3 separate regions of the Homo sapiens genome follow, and regions 2 and 3 are each linked to region 1. Evidence: promoter capture Hi-C in 16 types of primary human blood cells and fetal thymus (Javierre and others, 2016). All regions are on one chromosome and are shown on one strand. The core of a region is centred on a gene start or on the middle of the fragment in contact, and the rest is flanking DNA. Distances in the headings are between cores, read along the strand shown.

Evidence for each region. The method cuts DNA at HindIII sites, captures the fragments that hold promoters and counts their contacts. A CHiCAGO score of 5 or more calls a contact.
Region 2: a contact is called between a fragment that was not itself captured here and the fragment with the promoter of ATP2B3 in region 1, in 1 of 17 cell types (naive CD4 T cells). The highest score is 5.3, in naive CD4 T cells.
Region 3: a contact is called between a fragment that was not itself captured here and the fragment with the promoter of ATP2B3 in region 1, in 4 of 17 cell types (M1 macrophages, total B cells, M0 macrophages and 1 more). The highest score is 8.5, in M1 macrophages.

What each region holds. Positions count from the first base shown.
Region 1 is chrX:153,515,251-153,519,085 of GRCh38, reverse strand. It overlaps ATP2B3 (ATPase plasma membrane Ca2+ transporting 3), which reads right to left and starts at 1,444. Exons shown (of 22, transcript NM_001001344.3): 1 at 1,211-1,444; 2 at 535-654. The HindIII fragment of the contact is 7,787 bases long and covers 1-2,555 here.
Region 2 is chrX:153,026,939-153,030,635 of GRCh38, reverse strand. It overlaps the pseudogene LOC112268308. Among named protein-coding and RNA genes, the nearest start is that of PNMA3, 28 kb to the left of the region's middle. The HindIII fragment of the contact is 1,319 bases long and covers 1,627-2,945 here.
Region 3 is chrX:153,010,020-153,013,868 of GRCh38, reverse strand. No RefSeq gene overlaps it. Among named protein-coding and RNA genes, the nearest start is that of PNMA5, 18 kb to the right of the region's middle. The HindIII fragment of the contact is 1,156 bases long and covers 1,786-2,941 here.

The sequences.
Region 1 (3,835 bases), core at 195-2,694:
CTAGTGAGGGGCAATGGCAGGGGGTGAGGGCACAGATCCTAGTGGGCAAAGGAGGGGAGGAGGTGCAGGGGGTGCCTGCCAGACTGGTGCCCAAGTCAGCCAGGGGAAGTCGGCTGACGTTTAGGGTGCCAGTGGAATTCAGGATGGGGGCCAGTTGGGGACAGGCTGGACTTGATCCTTTAGCAGGCAGGGACTCCTTTGAGGTCGGAGGCCCTGGGCTTCATCTTTGAAAGTTATATGACCTCGCCAGGAAATGGCAAGCATCTCGTTGAGGAATTCTGGTCCCTTCCCTGCCCCTTGAGTGAGCGAAGGAGCATTTCCACAGTCTCTCCTAAACCCTCATGGAGCCCTCACCGCGGGCTCTCCAAGACTCCCTCCAGTCCTGACCTGCCCCGGCGCCATGCCCCTGCCCTGCCTCCCACCCCTCCTCAGCCGGCTGGCTGAGCCACCAACCCCCAGAAGGGCCAGCAGAAGGAAGGACACCAGGTCACAGAGAGAGAAGCCCATCGTCTCAGGCTCTGGGAGATGCCGCACCTGCCATTCCAAATTCCAGAATCTTAAAGCCAGAGCTTTCACCCGTGAGAAAACGCAGGCGGCCACAGGAAAAGCTGGCTGGCCAAGGTCACACAGGCGAGGAGGGGGAGACAGCCGTTCCTGGAGGGATGGAGAAGTTACCTAAGTGCGGCCCCGGGCGGCTTCTCGTGGGCACTGCCCATGACCGCGGTGGGGTCTGCTGGGCAGCCGCGTGGGCGTGCGGGGAACGGTGCGGGAAGGCGAGAGGGGAAGGATGATACAGTGTGAGGGCGCGGGGGGGAGGGGGTGCCCGAGGCTCCGGGAAGGTGCGTGCGCACTGGCGGGCTCCCGGCCCAGATCCCGCGCCCCCGGCTGCGCCCACCCTGAGCCCCGGCCCGCAGCCCCCAAGGGCCTTGTTCCTCAGACACGGATGCGCGTGCGCGCGCGATGCGGGGCGCAGGGTGCAGGGTGCGGGGCGCTGCCCGCCGGCCTGGGGCCCCGGGGTGACGCGCGGCCGCAGTGCCGCAAGGACACGCAGGCCCGGCGCGGGGCTCAGGTGCCTCGGGCGGGGACCCGTGTCCCCCTACCTGCCGCCGCACCACCTGCCGGGTCATCCTCCCATCCCCACCCGCGCCTTGTGCCCGCGCCGCGCCCGCGCCCACCCCGGCGGCGCCCGCGCGCCCAGAGCACCACTTACCCGGGCATGGGCACGGCCGCCGCCGCGGCCTCGGCTCCGGCGGGCGCTGTCGCTGCGGGCGGGCGTCAGGCGGGCAACGATCCGCTCCAAGGATGGAAAGGCCTGGGCACGGGGCGGCCTGGCCGGCGGCGCGGGACGCGACCCTCTGCGGCGGGCGAGGGCTGCGGCCGAGTGCTCCCCACGCTCTGCACCGGCGGCGGGCGACGCGGCGCGCTCGGCTCCAACCGCAGCTCTGAGCGCGGAGGGAGGGAGGGGGGAGGGGAGGGAGCTGGGTGAGGAGGAGGGAGGGAGGAGGGAGCGGGCGCGGGGGGCGGTGCGCGGCGCAGGGGCCTCGGGGCTCAGGAGCTACGCGCCCGGTGCGCGCCCTTCTGTCCCCAGGACGCGCGAGGGTGCCCGCCCTTCCTGGCCTGGCATTGCCCCCAAAGGGCACTGGCCGAGTGGGGGTGGGTGGGGATGGAAACTGGGGGACCATGGCACCTGTGAGTGCAGAGAGAGCACCCTGAGCTTGCGACTGAGGCTGCCACTACCTCTCCAGACCCTGCCCTCTAGGTGCGTCTCCCCAACAGTAAAATGGGGCACAGAGCCGGGTGGCTGATGTGTAGCGTGGGGTCCTTGGGTCTTGCCTCAGTGGACTCCAAGGCATTGGTGGTCTCCTGCAAACTCCATTACCTGTTGAGAGTACGGGCGTCCAAATGCGTCTTCCCAGAGGAAGCGGCGCTTACCGGAGATCCTCACCGTCGGTTATCACGGGAACACCACCGTTAGGCAGAACACAGAGACTGCACACAGGTGGGCACCAGAGACAGACACGCAGGGGCACATACATCCCCGGTGTGAGTGGAGACAGACACACAGACAAACCCCAGTGCAGACACCTGTCCACACCCACAAGCACGCGTTCCCACCTACCTGGAAAGAGACCCCCGTGCCTGCCGGTGGACCCCCAGGCTTCCCAGCTCCAGGGGCTGTGGAGGCCTCTGACCCCAGGGCCGGCCTTTGCGAGCATTCTGAGCAGCGAGCAGAGAATGCTCGCTGGGGCACAGGTAGAGGCTCTGGGCGGGAGCCTGAGGCAGGTGCAAGAGGCCTGGACGCAGCCTCAAATTCTTTCTTGCCTTGGACAAAGAGGGCCCTGGACATGCTGTGTGCCAGACCAGAGCTGAATACTGGGGACACAGCAGGGACCACAAAGCAGGGAGTGGCCGTCGGATGGCAAATGTGCTCACGCCGCTGGGGTCGGAGCTATGGAACCCCATTGATGGGGAGCCATGAAAGAGGCTGCTGGCGGCTCAGGGAAGGCCTCTTTGAGGAGGCACCACTGTGCTAGGGACCAAAAGGACAGAAAGCTTCTGCTGCCCCTGAGACCAGGGAACCGTCACAACCCCCACAGACTGCCCCTCCCTTCCACAGGAAGCAGCTGGTGCCGTGGAAAGCTGAGGTTCGCGCACGCACGCACACACACACTCATACACCTGGTCATGTGTGCGCTCACACATGCTTACTCACACCCACTCACATGCACGCACACATACTCACACCTGCTCATATGCATGAACTCATGCTCACTCACCTACTTACACAAACACACACTCACACACTCATGCACACACTCACAATCTCACGCAGACACATCCTCACAGTCATATGTGCTCACTCACCCTCACCCACACAAGCTCGGTGGCCCACACAGTTACACAATGGTTCACACATATTTACATGCTCTCACACCTACACAACTCACACACTTACCCAGTGAGCACACACATGGGCACATACATACACACACACTCACACACAGTTACTCACAGTCACACTCACACACACACTCCCCACTCACACTCTCACACATATTCATTTGCACACTCCCGCAGTCCCCTTCCACTCCAACTCTGAGGCAGCTTTTCCTGAGCCTGGGGCGTGTGCTCCTCCGGGCCCAGAGCCGCCATGGGGACACCCCCTTCTCACACACACACAGCCTGTGACTTCCCATGGCCCCGAATGGGAAAAATCAAGACTGAAGCAAGCCCCAATGATGCTGGAAACTTATCATGAGCTAAGTTCTGGCCATTTCGCCAGAGCCCTGCCATCTTGGAGTCGTTCCTCTTACTAGCCCACATTCCAGATGGGGAAGTGGAGGCCCAGAGGGCACTGGATCCCACCCGGAGCAGGTTGTAAGCTGGACTTTGGCCCCTGGCCGGGAGGCCAGCTGCCCCCATGCCCTCAGGCACCACAGGAGGGCAGAGGAGCTCCTTTCCCCAGCGCATTCAGGCCACGTTCCTTCTTGGCCTCCCACACTGTGGCAGGCTCCCTGGGGTCATGTCCTTCCATCCCAGGCCCAAGGGCCCTGCTCTGGAGTGAGCAAAGGCAGAAGCAGGCTGCTGAGCTGGCCTCCTTTCGTGGCCCCCAGCAGGAGCATCCCTTGGGCAAGGGTTGGGTCCCGGCTGAAGACAAGCACCTCTTAGCAGACATGTGTGGGCAGCTCTGGGAGGGCAGGTGTGGGGCTGGGGAGACCCACACTTAAAGGCTTAGGAGTGGCTGTGAGAGCTGACAAGCAAAGAGAAGAGTCCCTTTGGGCTGCGTCACTGTCTTCCCTCGGGGACCAGGGAACATGCTGAGGGATGGAGGCTG
Region 2 (3,697 bases), core at 1,037-3,536, 490 kb after region 1:
GGGATGAGGGACCAGCCCTGGCCTGGCCTCCCCACTGCCTCCAGGATGCTGCGGCCTGAGAGGAGAGGAGGCCCTGGGGCCCTCTGAGCCTATTTGCCTGGGGAGGATTTGGGCTGACCAACCTTCCTGGCCCCATCCTCATTTTCCAACTCCTCCAGTATGAACATAAGACCCCCTTGGGTCGGGGGGCTCCTCAGCCTCCTGGCCTCCTGCCTGGACAAGACCCTCTGGCTCCTTCGAGGCCTGCAGGGGCATTTTCACCTTCCCTAATGGCAGGGGTGCTCCTGGCGGCCTCTTTGGTGGCAGGAGCAGTCTCAGCAGCATCTTCCACGCCAGGGTCAGCCTGGCTGGCGTCTTCCTGGGCTGAGGAGGCCTGAGCAGCATCTCCACAGGCAGGAGCTGCCTGGGCGGCAACTGGATCTTCACTTTCCACTGTGGCCACTGGCCAGGCCACAACATGCTGGCTCCTCACTGGGGAGGCCGCCCACGCCTCCATCTCCTGGATGAGCTGAAGCAGCCCCAGGAAGTAGGGCGGCCTCCTCTCCAGTGCATCCCCCTCAGGGTATTCTGGAGTGCTTCGCCAGGGCAGGCCTGAGGCTGCACCTACCGCAGTCACAGGTGGTTGGCCAGGGCCGGGCAGACGGCCCCCTTCTCCAGGGCCATCTGCAGCAGGCCTTCCAGGCATACCAGGAAGGCAAAGGGCCCCTGCGTTCAGGTCAGGAACTTCAGCCTGGAAGTCATTCGAGGGTCCCGGTTTCCAAACGCCTGCCCCAGCACCGCTGCCCAGCAGTCCAGCAGCGCCTGGCAGTCCAGTGCCGCCAAGTTGGGATCTTCCTCTAGGAGGCCGCTCACAACGTCCAGGGCTGGGCCACCCAAGCTCTCCAGCAGCCATCTCTTCCTCTCCCTTTCCGACGCATGGTACCACAGCTGCAGCATATCCTTGGCGTGCTCCATCCAGCTCTCAAAGGACTCTTCCTCGCAGCCTGGCTGCTCCCTCCCTGAAAAGGGTCTCAGTTCCTGGTAGGCCCTGTTTTCCAGCACAGCCTGCAGGGTGCAGCGCCGAGGCTGGACCCAGGCTCTTGTTACATTTGTCCCTCTTGCCTCACCCACAGCTCCTGCCTCACCCGCAGCTCCTGCCTCACCCACAGCTCCTGCCTCACCCACAGCTCCTGCCTCACCTGCAGGTCCTGTATCACCTGCGGCTCCCTCATCTGACTCTCTTGCCTCTTCTGCAACTCTCAACTCATCTCCAGCTCCTCCCTCACCTGCACCTTCTGCCTCACTTGCAGATCCTCCCTCACCTGTGGCTTCTGCCTCACCCTTACCCACAGCTCCTGTTTCACCTATGGCTCCTGCTGCACCTGCAGCTCCTCCATCACCTGCCTCTTCTTCCTCACCTGCAGCTCCTGCCTCACCTGCAGATCTTTCCTCATTCACACCTCCTGCCTCACCTACAGATCCTGCCTCACCTGCAGCTCCTGCCTCACCTGCACCTCTGGCCACTGCTTGCCCCTGGGGCTATGCAGGGAAACTGGGTATATCCTGAAACTCAGCATCAAGGGCCTGGGGCAGGGAGATCACTTTCCAGGGTCCCCCTTTGCCTGCTATTTGGCGGGGAATCAAGCTTTGGTTTAAACCCTCAGCGAATTCCACCAAGGCTGCCCTGGCCCCGAGCTCCTTTCTGAAGACCTTGATGAGCACTCGGTACCTGCCCAGGGGCGACAGGGCAGCCCGCACGGCCTCCTGGAACTCATGTTCCTCGCAGTCGTCAGGGATATCCAGGATGAGCAGAGAGCGCTCTGCGTTCACACCCATCCTCCTGCACCAGTCCCGAAGCATCGCCAGAGCCATCGCAGAGGACTTGAGGGAGGGAGCCTGATCAGACAGGAATGTGTGCTGACTGTTGCAGTCTCTGACGCAGCCTGTGAGTGCAAAGGGGAGAGAGGGACGTTGCTGCCAGTCAGCCCACCCCCACCGCACAGCCAGAGACCAGCCACTCCCAAATGCAGGGCCTGAAGCATCTCCCCTGCCCAGTGTCACAGCCCATGCTCCCCCACCCCTACTGCTGCAGCTCAGAGTCCTTCACTGCACCCCCCACCTCCACAGCAGGAAGCGCCTCTTTCACCTGGTGAACAGCCCCTGATCACAAAACTTACAGCTGGAGCCCCTCCAACCATCATGTGCAACCCTGCAGCTGGATGTGCCCACCTCCTCTTTTTCCCAGCACTTGACCAGGAGCCCTCTCCCTAATGCCATCCTCCCTGCAACCTGGCAACCCCCTCCCACGCCTCCCACATCAGCAGCCAGGAGTCCCCTTCCCCCACAGCCAGAGCCCCTCTCTCTCCCATCGTCCCCTTCTGTAGCCAGAGGTGCCCTGCAGCCAGGAGCTCACCCCACCCAGACTCCTGCAGCAAGGAGACCCTCCTCCCCTCTCCTCAGGCTCCAGACCAGGACCCGCTGTCGCACCTACTGCCTGGGGGGACAGCGATCTGGCTCCTGCCCAGTGTGCCCTCAGCCACTCTGGGGTCCCGCTGGTGCCTGCTCACTGTCTGCAGACACTGCAACCACCCACGGGGAAATGCCACCTTCAGGCTGTGGAGCCCACTCTGGAGGCCGCCTTGAGGCCCTGGAATGGGAAGGTGGAAGATCGCGCCCCAGCAGCCCATCTGGGACTGCACAGGGCAGGGATATCTCAGGCCAGCTGTACTAAGGGCACGTGGGCTTCCAACTTCTCCCAGAAGCCTCAGATAGATGAGGGAGAAAAATCTCAGAGTCTCTGTGGGAGGCAAATAGCTAAACAGGGGGAGGCATCCGTGTTGCCCTGGGATCGGGACCTGCGCGGTAAGGGCTTGATGTGCCTCCGGGGGCAACAGGCCCAACCATCAAAATGGCCTAGTGGAAGTGTTGAGAGAGAAAGGGGATTGGAAACTGGCAGAGAGGAAGCTTATGCTTAGGGGCAGCGTCTGGAAGCTGGGAGTTGGTGGACAGCCAGGTACTAGGACTCCAGACTAGGTCCCCCAAATCACTACATTCACAGGCCTACCTCCTCATTGCAGGAATCTCCACAACAGGAAGAGGCTAGCTGTTCCTGACTCAAGAGCCTCATCATAGTTCTTAGGCTACAAAGCCAGCCTTCACCACCTAGGAAGCCATTGCATTGGAAAGAGTGTGTACGGCCTTTGGAAGCAGGCAAAGCTGGCTTCACCTAGCAGCTGGGTGGCTTTGCACAAACCACTGAACATCTCTGTTTCTCATCTGTAAATGAGCAATAAGAACATTTTTCTTGCAGGGGAGTCATGGAGCTTTACCTTCTATTAGACACACGGTAAGCCTTCAGTAAATAACCACAAGGGCACAGGAATGAAAAAGGGTGGTGTGGCCAAGAATGGTGTGGGTATTGGAGGCTGGTTGTGGCAGCCAGCTCAGTGGTCCCAGGTCTGAGCTCTGAGAAAAAGCAGGATGTGAGTGGGAACATTGGAACCATTTTCCTGAGGAATGCAAGGATTGGCCAATGTGAAAATATGACTTTCTGTTTCTGCAGGCCTTGGTCAAGAGAGGCATTTGGGAAACTCAGCCAGTCTCTGCCATGTCTAGGACTGGCTACCCATCTGGCCAGCAGCTTTGGGAGTTTCCTGAGAGTGAACCCTTGATGCATCCTTGAGCACTGCTGCACAGGCACCACTGCCCTCACGTCACT
Region 3 (3,849 bases), core at 1,114-3,613, 510 kb after region 1:
AATGGCAGTCATGAGGCAATATGTGGCTCTTTGCATGTTTGGATTAGAAAAGCATGCTCCTGGCCACCTGGAAGGTATGGAGATATTCCCCCACTGAGAGATAAGGGTCCCATGGGAGATGGGCTAATTCCCTCTTTTTGGGATCCAGGATCTGGTATAAAAATGGGACCTTAATTTTGGGGAATCTGTTTTTGCCTTTCAGCTGTGCCTGCTTAATAGGCCCTACAAACTGCATCTTTTAAAAGAAACTTAAGAAACTGGCAAATGAAAAATCTTAACAACTACTGGTTATTCTTCTGTCTGTGTATTTATATGTGTTGTGTGTGTGATGTTTATGAAAGAGCTTTGATTAATTGGCTTAAAAATAGTGCTTAAATATTTTATCAGAAAAATAAAAAGCATAATGCCTTTTAGTTCACATTACTTTAGTAATTTTGGGGAAATAAAAACAGTTTTACAAGCAAGGTGTGTAAGGAAAGTGAAATGTGTTTTTGGTAAAAGATTAAAAGAAGGCATGAGAATGTGGATTTTTTTTAGAAGGTTAAAGGATTGTTTTAAGTTAGGTAGGAAAAAGCTGAAGATTTGAGCAAGTTGTGGAAGGTTTGTGAAAAATTAATCTTGTAAAAGAAATTCTGTGTGTGAACATATTGGCTAACATTAAAGGGTATTCAGTTTTTCTGTAAATTGAACATTGGAATAAAAGCACAACAGGCTTTTCATAAAGCACTCATCTGCTCTTTAACAAAAATTTTTCAAGGGTTTATAAGAATCTTACTTTATGATGAGACTTTAAAATTGGATAGATTTGTGTATAAGGTTTTATTAAGAATTGGGTTTAACATCAATAGTGCATTAATGGAAAGGGTGAAATGTGGCTTTCTCTCTTGAACAGGATTTTCATGTTTTATTAAAAAATAATGAAAGATTTTTGTTTGCCTTTTAAATAAACTACAGGAAAAGAGGGGAAAGAAAAGAGACATTGTTTGGAAAGCTAGGTCTTCCCTCTTCATGAGTAAGGGGTTTTGCCTTTTAAAAATTTTTTAAGTTATTATTTTGGCAAAATGAATGACTTATGGTCACCTGGGATTCTATTTTGTGATATCTAGTGTTTTAAACCTTTGATATTTGACAAGCTTCCCAAAATCAAATTATAAAATATGTCTTTTTCTGACCTAATTAATCTTTTAGATATTAGGTCACCTAAAGTCCAAAAGTGACTTTTGGCTTATTTGGTATAAAAGTCATACAGGAAGCATTGTCAAATATGAAATGGTGTTTGGCCTTCTTTGGGCTGTGTTTGTATAAATATGTTATTGGCATGTATTCCAAAATTATGGAAGCTCCTATAATTCTGATATAACTTAGTGTGTGTTATCAATAGTTATAATTGCTATGTAAAATTGTTGTATACCACAGAGGTAATCAAAATTTTTTTGTCCATTGTGGCTTTAATAGTGGCTGTCCTAAAATTTTGTCATCCACAGACAATTGTTATCTTGTTTTAATACTCTTCAGAAGGTGGTTTTATAATCACCTATAGAACCCTAACAAGTGTTATTAAATGCAGGTTTTCTGATAACTTTGGAGAGTGTGACATTCAGATAGAGGAAAAACTTTCAGGACTCATGGACAGCTGAAATGTTCATGAATATCAAACAGGACAGGAGCTAACTGCATGTATTGCGCTAATAGAAGTTTGAAGTAATCTTGGCTGTTTGCTTAAAATGTTGCTGATCCTTTGTTTTGTTTTCCAGAGTCAAGGAAACTTTTGAGCTATTTAAAGCTTTTAACAATTAAGTAAAGTATACACCTATGAACACAATTTGGAGCATATGGGGAAACTGGTTATTTTACCAAGGCTTTGACGAGAATAGGGTGCTTTCCTTTAAGGAAAAAAACTTGACTTATAGAGCCAATAAAAGCCCCTTGGGAAAACTGGCCTCATAGGTTGTCTATACAGTCCCTGTACAGGGTTCCTGACCCGTGGTAAGTAAAGCATGTCACTTTCTCACAGGCCCAGGTGCCCCCAGTTATCTTAGGACCTCAAGAGAAGAGGAATTTACCCAACTCGTAAGTATTTGAGAGTATAAACCCACAGCTGGGCTTGGCTTTAAAAAAAAAAAAAGTCTTCAGGGCTCACGCCTATAATCCCAGCACTTTTGGAGGCAGAGGCGGAGGCGGGTAGATCACGGGGTCAGGAGTTCAAGACCTGCCTGGCCAAGATGGTGAAACCCCATCTCTACTAAAAATACAAAAAATTAGCTGGGTGTGGTGGCAGGCACCTGTAATCCCAGCTACTTGGGAGGCTGAGGCGGAGAATTGCTTGAACCCGGGAGGGGAGGTTGCAGTGAGCCAAGATCATGCCACTGCACTCCAGCCTGGGTGACAGAGCGAGACTCTGTCAAAAAAAAATGGAAAAAAAGTCTTATCTGAGATTCTTTCGATGGAACAGAGTTCCATCAAAGCTAATTTAAAAATAATTATTCTTGCTGCACTTTATATGAATGATCAGGCCAAGTATAAGAAAGTAAATTGGTCTTACCATGATTTGTTTTTAATAAAAATGGGAGACTGGAGATAGAAAAACTCTTTCGAACACTGTGGTACACATGTTAATAGATTCTAGTCTCATCAGTTGTTCTGGGACTTTTTTCTTCAATTTAGACTAACCCTGCTTATTCCTGTGAACAAACCAGTGACCTCTGACTGCTATTCAGAAGAAAGAAGAGGGATGGGTGATGTAAAAATCTGGATCTGTATTCTAATTCTGGGCACATATTGGGATGGGCTAGCAACCCCATATCAACTTGGTTCCAACAATTGTCCAGTTCATGGAAAGCCTTTTCTAATTTAATTTACTAGAGATAATTTTACTTATTTTGCTTTCCTGTTGTTGAATATATTGCTGTTATAGTCTTTGTGTAGGAATGCAGGACAAGCTTACTGAATGTTTCCCTAAACTGAACACTTATTAATCTTCCAGATATCACCTTTTGTTGAAACTCAAGAGTTATGAATGGCCTTCAACATACCGACACTTTCTAACCGAACTCCTCTCTACCCTGAATGCAAGAGACCCAGTAGTTAGGTAGGAATATCATCTCCCCTGTTCAGCATAAAGAAGTTACAGAAGATGGATTTTCATCCCTTTGCAACCCTTAGGATTAAGGGTTCTCTTGTAAAAGGGAGCAGGGAAATGTCAGAGGCATTTGAACCAAAACAACTCCATCTTGAATAGGGGCTGGGTAAAATGAGGCTGAGACCTACTGGGCTGCATTCCCAGATGGTTAAACATTCTAAGTCACAGGATGAGACAGGAGGTCAGCACAAGATACAGGTCATAAAGACCTTGCTGATAAAACAGGTTGCAGTAAAGAAGCTGGCCCAAACCCACCAAAAACAAGATGGTGATGAGAGTGACTTCTGGTCATTCTCACTGCTACACTCCTGCCAGCGCCATGACAGTTTACAAATGCCATGGTGATGTCAGGAAGTTACCCTATATGGTCTAAAAAGGGGAGGCATGAATAATTCACTCCTTGTTTAGCATATCATCAAGAAATAACCATAAAAATGAGCAACCAGCAGCCCTTGGGGCTGCTCTGTCTGTGGAGTAGCAATTCTTTTATTCTTTTACTTTTCTAATAAACTTGCCTTCATTTAAAAAGAAAAGAAGAAATTAAACCATTGGTTAATTATGGTGAAATCAATAGGCTCAGAACAGTTCATAACCTTAGAGTATAGAGCAAATCCCACACCCCTCCACAAAGGAGTTAGAAAGAAGCAGGGAACTGAAGATGTAGGGTCCAGGATTGCTCCGTTTGCTTGATAGGTCACTCAAGAGGGCCT